3 separate regions of the Homo sapiens genome follow, and all the other regions are linked to region 3. The links are contacts of gene promoters, found by promoter capture Hi-C in blood cells and fetal thymus (Javierre and others, 2016). All regions are on one chromosome and are shown on one strand. The core of a region is centred on a gene start or on the middle of the fragment in contact, and the rest is flanking DNA. Distances in the headings are between cores, read along the strand shown.

The links. Contacts are between HindIII fragments. The CHiCAGO score rates a contact against its expected background, and 5 or more counts as called.
Region 1: a fragment that was not itself captured here is called in contact with the fragment with the promoter of PDZD7 in region 3 in 2 of 17 cell types (total CD4 T cells and non-activated CD4 T cells); the score reaches 5.3 in total CD4 T cells.
Region 2: a fragment that was not itself captured here is called in contact with the fragment with the promoter of PDZD7 in region 3 in 1 of 17 cell types (fetal thymus); the score reaches 5.2 in fetal thymus.

The regions. Positions count from the first base shown.
Region 1 is chr10:100,539,438-100,542,137 of GRCh38, forward strand. It overlaps HIF1AN (hypoxia inducible factor 1 subunit alpha inhibitor), which reads left to right. Exons shown (of 8, transcript NM_017902.3): 3 at 1,197-1,345. Among named protein-coding and RNA genes, the nearest start is that of HIF1AN, 4.8 kb to the left of the region's middle. The HindIII fragment of the contact is 8,099 bases long and covers 1-2,700 here.
Region 2 is chr10:100,558,893-100,561,592 of GRCh38, forward strand. It overlaps HIF1AN (hypoxia inducible factor 1 subunit alpha inhibitor), which reads left to right. Exons shown (of 8, transcript NM_017902.3): 8 at 1-1,106. Among named protein-coding and RNA genes, the nearest start is that of HIF1AN, 24 kb to the left of the region's middle. The HindIII fragment of the contact is 1,639 bases long and covers 482-2,120 here.
Region 3 is chr10:101,029,679-101,032,378 of GRCh38, forward strand. It overlaps PDZD7 (PDZ domain containing 7), which reads right to left and starts at 1,451. Exons shown (of 17, transcript NM_001195263.2): 1 at 1,395-1,451; 2 at 316-706. The coding sequence starts at 541. It overlaps SFXN3 (sideroflexin 3), which reads left to right and starts at 1,556. Exons shown (of 12, transcript NM_030971.6): 1 at 1,556-1,856; 2 at 2,636-2,700. RefSeq lists an enhancer at 1,869-2,078. The HindIII fragment of the contact is 3,909 bases long and covers 1,239-2,700 here.

The DNA.
Region 1 (2,700 bases), core at 36-2,535, 490 kb before region 3:
GTAGAAGGCTGCAACAGGATAGGTGGCTGAATCAGTTAAGATAAACTAGGCTTCAAGCCAGAGCTCGGGCTAGAAACAACAGAGGCTTATTTCTCACTTACTACATGTTGATCATGGGTAATGTCATATTGTTCTTTACATCATCTTACTTGCTCTGGCACCCAGATTGCCCCAGCAGCTACTATCTAGAACTTTGGAGTTGCTGTGGCAGAAGGAAAGAGATGTGGTAGTGGTAACTTGTTCTTAAATTACAGTTGGAAACAACACAAGTCGCTTCTGTGGACATTTCCTTGGCCAGAGCAGCGTAAATAAGCAAGCCTGGCTTCAAGGGGATGTGAAAGAAAACTCGCACACTGAGGGAACCAGCTCTTGGTGAACAGTAATACAATTTACCACAGTGGTCATCAAGGGCCAACGGAGATGTCTCAGGCTCTGCGAGTCTCTGGAGTGAGACTGATTCATCATTCTAGGGTCTGTGGATAGGCTTCTAGGAGTCTGAAATTGTGTGAAAGTTCTGGGTGTATGTGCATTTTTATGGGGAACCTCCGTGGATTCTTTTATTTATTTATTTATGTATTTATATTTTTTGAGATGGTGTCTTGCTCTTGTCACCCAGGCTGGAGTGCAATGGCACGATCTCAGCTCACTGCAACCTCTGCCTCCCAGGTTCAAGTGATTCTCCTGCCTCAGCCTCCTGAGTAGCTGGGACTTCTTCTCCAGGTTCTTTTTTTTTTTTTTAATTTTATTTTTCATCTCACCCTCCTACTCTTTGGATTCTTAAAGGAGTCATTCTGTGACCCAAAAAAGGTTAAGCATCACTTCTTTAAAGAAAAAGTTTGGGGGCCAGATGCAGTGTCTCACACCTGTAATCCCAGCACTTTGGGAGGCAGAAGCAGGAGGATTGCTTGAGCCCAAGAGTTTAAGACCAACCTGGACAACATATTGAGACCTTGTTTCTTTAAACAAAACAAAGAAAAACCAGTAAATTAAAAAATTTGGTGTTGAACATAACTCAATGAAGGATAAGTAAGAATTCAGTTGTATGAGAATCCATGTTGGCTAAAATTTGCCTGACTACATCTGTTCTCTGTGGGAGATGCTGGTATGGATTTGGGCTTGGATTTTCAGATGTGGAGAGGCCATGCCAGGGGCTGTGTGTGCATGCACTAATAGGATTTTCTTCTTGGGGAACATAGGTTGTATCTGCAGCAAACGCTCAATGACACTGTGGGCAGGAAGATTGTCATGGACTTCTTAGGTTTTAACTGGAACTGGATTAATAAGCAACAGGGAAAGCGTGGCTGGGGGCAGCTTACCTCTAACCTGCTGCTCATTGGCATGGAAGGTAAGAAATCTTTCAAAAGCAGCATGGCTTGGAGTCATATGAACCTGATTTCTAATCCTGTCTTCACCGCTTATTAGCTCCATGACTTTGAACAAGCCACTTCACTTTCTTAAGCCTCAGCCTACTCAGCTCTAAAAGAAACATAATAGGGGCTGGATGCCGTGGCTCACGCCTGTAATCCCAGCAGTTTGGGAGGCCAAGGTGGGTGGATGATGAGGTCAGGAGATGGAGACCATCCCGGCCAACATCATGAAACCCCGTCTCTACTAAAATACAAAGAAAACAAATCAGCTGGGCATGGTGGTGCGTGCCTGTAGTCCCAGCTACTCGGGAGGCTGAGAGAGGGGAATTGCTTGAACCCAGGCGGTGGAGGTTGCAGTGAGCCAAGATCACGCCACTGCACTCCAGCCTGGCGACAGAGCAAGACTCTGTCTCAAAAGAAAGAAAAAGAAACATAATAGGGCCAGGCATGGTAGCTCATATTTGTAATCCCAGCACTTTGGGAGGCCAAGGCAGGAGGATTGCTTGAAGCCAGAAGTTTGAGGCTACAGTGAACTATGATTGCACCACTGCACTGCAGCCTGGGCAACAGAGTGAGATCCTATTGCTTAAAAAAGGAAAAATGAAAAGAAATGAAACATGATAATGTCTTGTAAATAGTTGTGAAGTTGTGAAGATTAAATGAAATAATGTATGTCGAGTCTGTTTTTTTTTGTTGTTGTTGTTTTGTTTTTTTGAGACAGAGTCTCACTCTGTTGCCTAGGCTGGAGTGCAGTTGTGTGGTCTCGGCTCACTGCAACCTCCGCCTCCCGTGTTCAAGTGATTCTCCTGCTTTAGCTCCCAAGTAGCTGACACTACAGGCGTGTGCCACCATACCCGGCTTATGTCGAGTCTTTAAGCTAGTTTCGTGTATTCTAAAAAGTTCCCTTTTCCCTTCCTCAGCTGTTATGTGAGTGTGTATACTGAGATATTAGGGACCTCTCTGAAATACAGACATGTGATGCTTAATGTCAGGGATACGTTCTGAGAAATGTGTTGTTAGGTGACTTCATCATTGTGCAAACACCATAGAGTATAGTTACACAAACCTAGATTGTGTAGCCTTCTATATGCCTAGGCTATATGGTGTAGCCTCTGACTAAACCATGTACTACATGGTGTTAGCATATTACTGTGCTGAATATTATAGTCAATTCTAACACAATGGTAAGTATTTGTGTATCTAAACATACCTAAATATAGAAAAGGTATAGTAAAAGTACGGTATCAGATACTGCAGGAAAAAGGTGACAAAAGAAAAAAGTATATAAAGGTTAAAAAATGGTAGTTTGGGAATTTTTTTATTGCCAAAAAAA
Region 2 (2,700 bases), core at 51-2,550, 470 kb before region 3:
ACATCATTACTATTTGCTGTAAGGATCTATGCAGTTTGTATTTTAAGTCCTTGACATATGGAAGAGCATTTGTGAGAGTAACAGGTTTGCTTTGTAATGCCAACTAAAAAGTGTGTATTTATACTCGAATTTTAAGTTGAAATTTTGCTAAGTTTCTTTTTTTTTTTTTTGAGACGGAGTCTCACTCTGTTGCCCAGGCTGGAGTACAGTGGTACAATCATTGCTAAGTCTTTCTGTAGTTTTAGAACATTTAGAACAACTTAAGATTTCCTGTATTTATAAACTTAATTTATTGGAAATATAAGTACTTGATCAGGTTTTGTCTTGGTCAGATAAATTAAGTACTTAAGGAAATCAAATACATTAATCATATAAATGCCATTTAAGTGTTTAAAGGAGTTTAGTTAAATGTAAGTTGGATCAAACATTAAACTTTTTTGTTTTATAAGCAAAATAATAAGATTTGTTAGCAGAACTTAAAAGCTTAGAAAAGAGAGGATTTTGGATATGTAACTTTGAAGAGGTGAATAGTTTGCTCTTTTCTGAGACAGGGCATTGCTTTTCGACGCAGGCTGGAGTGCAGTGGGGCAAGCATGGCTCACTGCAGCCTCAACCTCCTGGACTCAAGTGATCCTCCTGCCTCAGCCTCCCATGTAGCTGGGATCACAGGCACATGCCACCACACCTGGCTAATTTTTTATTTTTTGTAGAGACAGGGGCCTCACTTCATTGCCCAGGCGGATCTCGAACACCTGGGCTCAAGCAGTCCTGCCTCAGCCTCCCAAAGTTCTGGGATTACAGGCATAAGCCACTGTGCCTGGCCTTGAATATATTTTTTAACCAAAGTAATTTATGAATATAAATTGTTTCTATATAACCCAAAGTCACTCTCATTGACATTAAGAAACTCAGAGAGTGGGTTCTAAATGTAATATTACCACACACCCAAGTCACTTAGCCTCTACAAGTACCACGTAACTAGCAGCCGTTAAAAGATGGCCACCGCTAGTCCAGTCGGCCACAGACATGGTTTTGTTTGGCCAATACAAGTTTTTGAAAGTTTTAAAAAATTGACAACATTAAAGATCAGAAACTTGACCTAAAAAGATTTCTCTCTTTGGAAAATCAGATCTGGCAGTAATGAAATCGCCTTTCCCATGTGACAGCAGTTGGCTGGAGCTGAAGAGCAACTGCCCCCTTGGCTGTGTTCCTTTCAGTTTGTCAATCTCCACTCTTCACTGTTGTACCCTAGATCTCACTCACGTGACCTGTCTGGCCCACATAGATATTTGAGGGTATGGCCCTGAACTTGAGGCACTCTGGAGTTGCTAACAACTGATGCTGGGCAGCCTAGAATAAGGGCTCAGGAAAAGTGTAGGCCCTACCTCTCTCTGTTCACATCATTCCCCCCTCCAGCCAGGCTGTCTTCCCAGCTGACCTGGCTCCAGGACTGATTCCAACCCCTATAGCAACTGTGTAAGAAGTCCCCAGGCTCAGGCTTCTCAGTGTTCACTGCTCTTGTCTGTGACCAGGCACTTTGCCTAGGCTCTGACCTCATGTCTCAGTCCTTTTGAACATTCTGGTCACCTGCCTAGTTTGACCGCAGCCTGACTTTGGTCTGTGAGGGGTCCTGGGCTCTCTGCTTTATGCAGCCACCATATCTGATCTTTGTGATGTGGTTGTGAATCTTCTGCTTCTATCTCCACCATCACTGTCCACTGCTTGGGCAATATGGTTGCTCAGCTGAGAGATTGGCAGCCCAGATTGCTAAAGGCTTAGGAGACATGAAAGGTGAGTTTGGAAGTGTTTGGATTTTCAAAAGAAGGACAGAGGCAGAAGCCAACCACAGTTTAAGGGGGCAGCTAGTAGAGAGCTTTTTAGGCAAGGGAGGCCACTGCACATTTATAGGCAGAGAAGGTGGCAGGACAGAGAATTTAAGAGAATGAGGTCTCAGAGGAGGCATAGGATGATGGGATATGAAATAGCAAAGGCACACCCAAGGTGATCCTGAAGCTCAGAAATATTAAGTCATGCAGGAGGGGGCACCATTGGAAATATAATCCCCTAAAGTTATGAGTAAACAAATGATGGTGGGGTGTGGAGGGTAGAAAGAAGGCCTAAGCTTGATGTGGGGGCCACAGCCTGGGCAAGAGAAATTTCCAGCAAAGCCTCTGACAAATTTCTGACAAAGCCTCTCATGTTATCTAGTTGTGGCAGAAGCATCTGAACCAAATGGCTAGGAAGCTTGGTGAACAGTCAGACCCAGTGAGGGTTGATTAATGGATCCATGTCAGCCTAGACTAGAGGGAAGTCTCCAGCAGTATGCCTTAGGGCTCAGTCTGGGCCTGTGTCCTCTCTGACATTTTTATTGACAACTGACCGAAGCAGCAGGCTCATCAAGTTTGCAGGTGATAGAGCTAGGAGGGGCAGTTAATACTTTGCATGAAAGAGTCAGGATTCAAAACGATTTCAACAGGCTGGAACACTGGGCTGGAACCAACAAGATTAAACTTAACAGGGATAAATGTAGAGTCCTGCACTTAGGTTAAAACAAAATCAATGACATAAGTACCGGTTGTAGGGGTTGGCCCAGCTTGACAGCAGTTCATGAAGAAAAGACCTGGGGGGTTTAGTTGACTGCAAGCTCAATATGAGTCAACTGTGTGATGTGACTGCTAAAATCCTAACACAGCCATGAAT
Region 3 (2,700 bases), core at 201-2,700:
AGAGAGGCCAGTTCAATCCCCTGCCTTGTCCACCAGGGGCTAGCATACCACACGCATGCCTGTCCCTGCTGCCATGGCCTTCTTTCCCTCCTCTGACCCTTCTACGACCCTGGACCCCTGCAGGATTGGCCTGGAGGAGAGGCCAAGGGCAGGTGAGGAAGAGTGTATGGGTTCCCAGGCGGCCTGCCACCTCCCTGTGACTCCCATCTCTTGAATTCCCCCAATCATACTGGCTCTGCCTCCTCCTGCTGAGTTCCCATTGTCCCCTACCCCCACCCTCCCCAACCCAGGCCAGTGGCTGGGTCCCGCCCCTACCTTCGATGGGGGAGTTGATGAGGATGACGCGTCCCATGGGCGATGAGGCTCGGATTCCGCGGGGGGGCCCGTTCAGCAGCCGTTGTTGCTTCCTTAGCAGGTATCGCGTTGCGGTGGAGCCTGAGTCGCTGCCTAGGTGGCCTCGGGAGGAGAGGGAGCTCAGAGAGCCGGAGCTCAGGTCTCCTAGGCCCAGTGGGTCGAAGCCCACTGCGAAACCCTGCGCCATGGCGGCTGGGCTAGGGCGGCACCCTACAGGTCCAGAAGGAATCTGCTAGCTCTGGAGAGGCCAGCCCTGCGTGCTTCGAGCTCCATGAGCCTCTGTGCGGGGCTGGGGTCTCAGTAACGTGAAGGCCCTCGCTTGCGATGCCTCTCAGAAGTGTGAGCTCCAGGCCTGGGCAGGGAGAGCAGGGATGAGGGAGGGGTGTAAATGTTTCCCCTGCTGCCCCCTAAAACTTCCACCCCTCCCCCTGGTTTAAGCATCCTGCCCTCCCATGCCTTAGGCCCCCCTCCTGTCTCACCCTAGGCCAGAGAACTGCCCCGTCCAGGCACCATCTTGGACTCTCGCTGACTTTATACAAGGCAGGTGGGAACCTTTCACCCCTCATTCCTGCTCGGGGCTGAGTCATCTACTCCCGTCCCCAGTCCTCAGTAGAGGTTGAGAGTGGAGTTGGGATTACTGCGGGCCCTGGGGCTTAGAGAGGTGTGAGACAAAAGAGAGGTCAGGACAGCTCATGGCATCACCTCTCTCATGCATATGCGGGCATGGAGGTGGCCCGGGGTGGGGCGGGGGCTGCGTGGGGCGGGCTGGGCCTCGAGGATAGGGCTTCAGGACCTTAGACAGCTGAGGCCCAGGAAGACCCCCAGACACCCGCGGGCTCCAGGCTGCGGCTCCGGGTCTAAAGAGGCTGCATGAACCTCTCCCAAGCTTTGGGGAGGATCTGCTGGAGAGGGGTCCCACGACATCCCGCGCAAAACCCAGGGCCAGTTCCCTCAGAGAAGCTCTGGGACCTAGAATGAAGCACCCCAACATCAACTCGGCCCTCCAGGCCCCCCACCCCTTTGTGCCTGGTCGGCCTCACCTGGTCGCTGGTGTGGCGCCGCCAGCCTTGTCAAACCACCCGCAGGCGAGAGCTACTGCCGCAGCCGGCAAACCCCACCCACGCTGCGCGGAGGCTGCGGGAATTGGGCTGGCCTGCACCGCCCCGGGCTCCCATTGGCTGGTAGGGCCGCCAGTCATTCTATTCCGGCACCTCCCTTAGGCGCCAGGGACAGCCGAGCGTTACCTGGTCCCGGGCAGCGGAGTTCTTTACCCACCCCAGTTCTGGTTCTGACGCCCTAGCTCATTCCGCAAATTTAGGGCTTGGGTCTGGCTTGTTCCCCTCCGGCTCGAACCACCTCTTCTCTGAGCCGAGCCAGCTACCGGGGCTCCTGGAATTGCCACCCCTCCCTGGGCACCCTTGAGGCCTCCGTGGAGGGACGTCACGGGGCAGAGCGGGACGTGAGCCTGAGTTTGCTGCAGGCGTGCTCTGTGTGGTGGCTGGGTGAGTTGTGAGTATGTGCGTGGCGGAGGGGGTGCCTTCTTCACTTGCATCCTCCTCCTCTGTCAGAAGGCGTCTCTGGCTACCCAGTTCTGGAATGGTCGCAGGGTGGGGCAGCTGGTCCCAGGACCGGAAGAATCCTAAGAATCCTTCTGATGCACTTGCTCGGATGCAGACCGCGAGGTTCCTGGGGTCGTCTGCCCCTCCACATCTCAGGGGTGGGGCTACGGTCTGGGGTGCAGGGCTAGGGGTTGGGAGCGTAAGGAGACCAGGGACACAGTGGAGCTAGGGGTTACAGAGGGGGAGCAGGGAGAGGGCTGGGGACATAGAAGAGGCACAGGCACGACAGGAACGGGGCTGTGAAGTGATGCGAATGCCGCGCTGCTACAAGAGGAGCTTGTGGATACTGGGGTAGGAGCCCAGGGGGACAAGCAAGCCAAAGGCCATTGCCAAGGCAGCCATCAAGTAAACAAGCCAGGCGGTAACCCGAGTCCCTCCCGGCGCGCCAGCAGAGGACCGCCCCTCCACACCGCCCACCTGCGCCCGGGGCTTTCTCTCTGGGCACCTAGACCGCTTGCTGCAGGGCTGGGGGTCTGCTGAGGCCCGCCAGGGGACTGTAAACCAAGGGAGCAGCGCCCGCGGCTCCAGCCCCTCCTCCCTTTGGCTGGGGAGGGGGCCAGAACTGATCCCCGAGGTGGGATTGGCTCTGGGAAGCAGCTTAGGGCCTGGTCCAGGTGGCCCAGGCTGGGGGCATCGCCTCGAATGACACCCACCGCCCTCAGGTTCTGCCAATCCCCGTGCCCACCGGGTGGGCGCGGCCGGGAAGCTCCTGCCCCTCCCTGCTGGT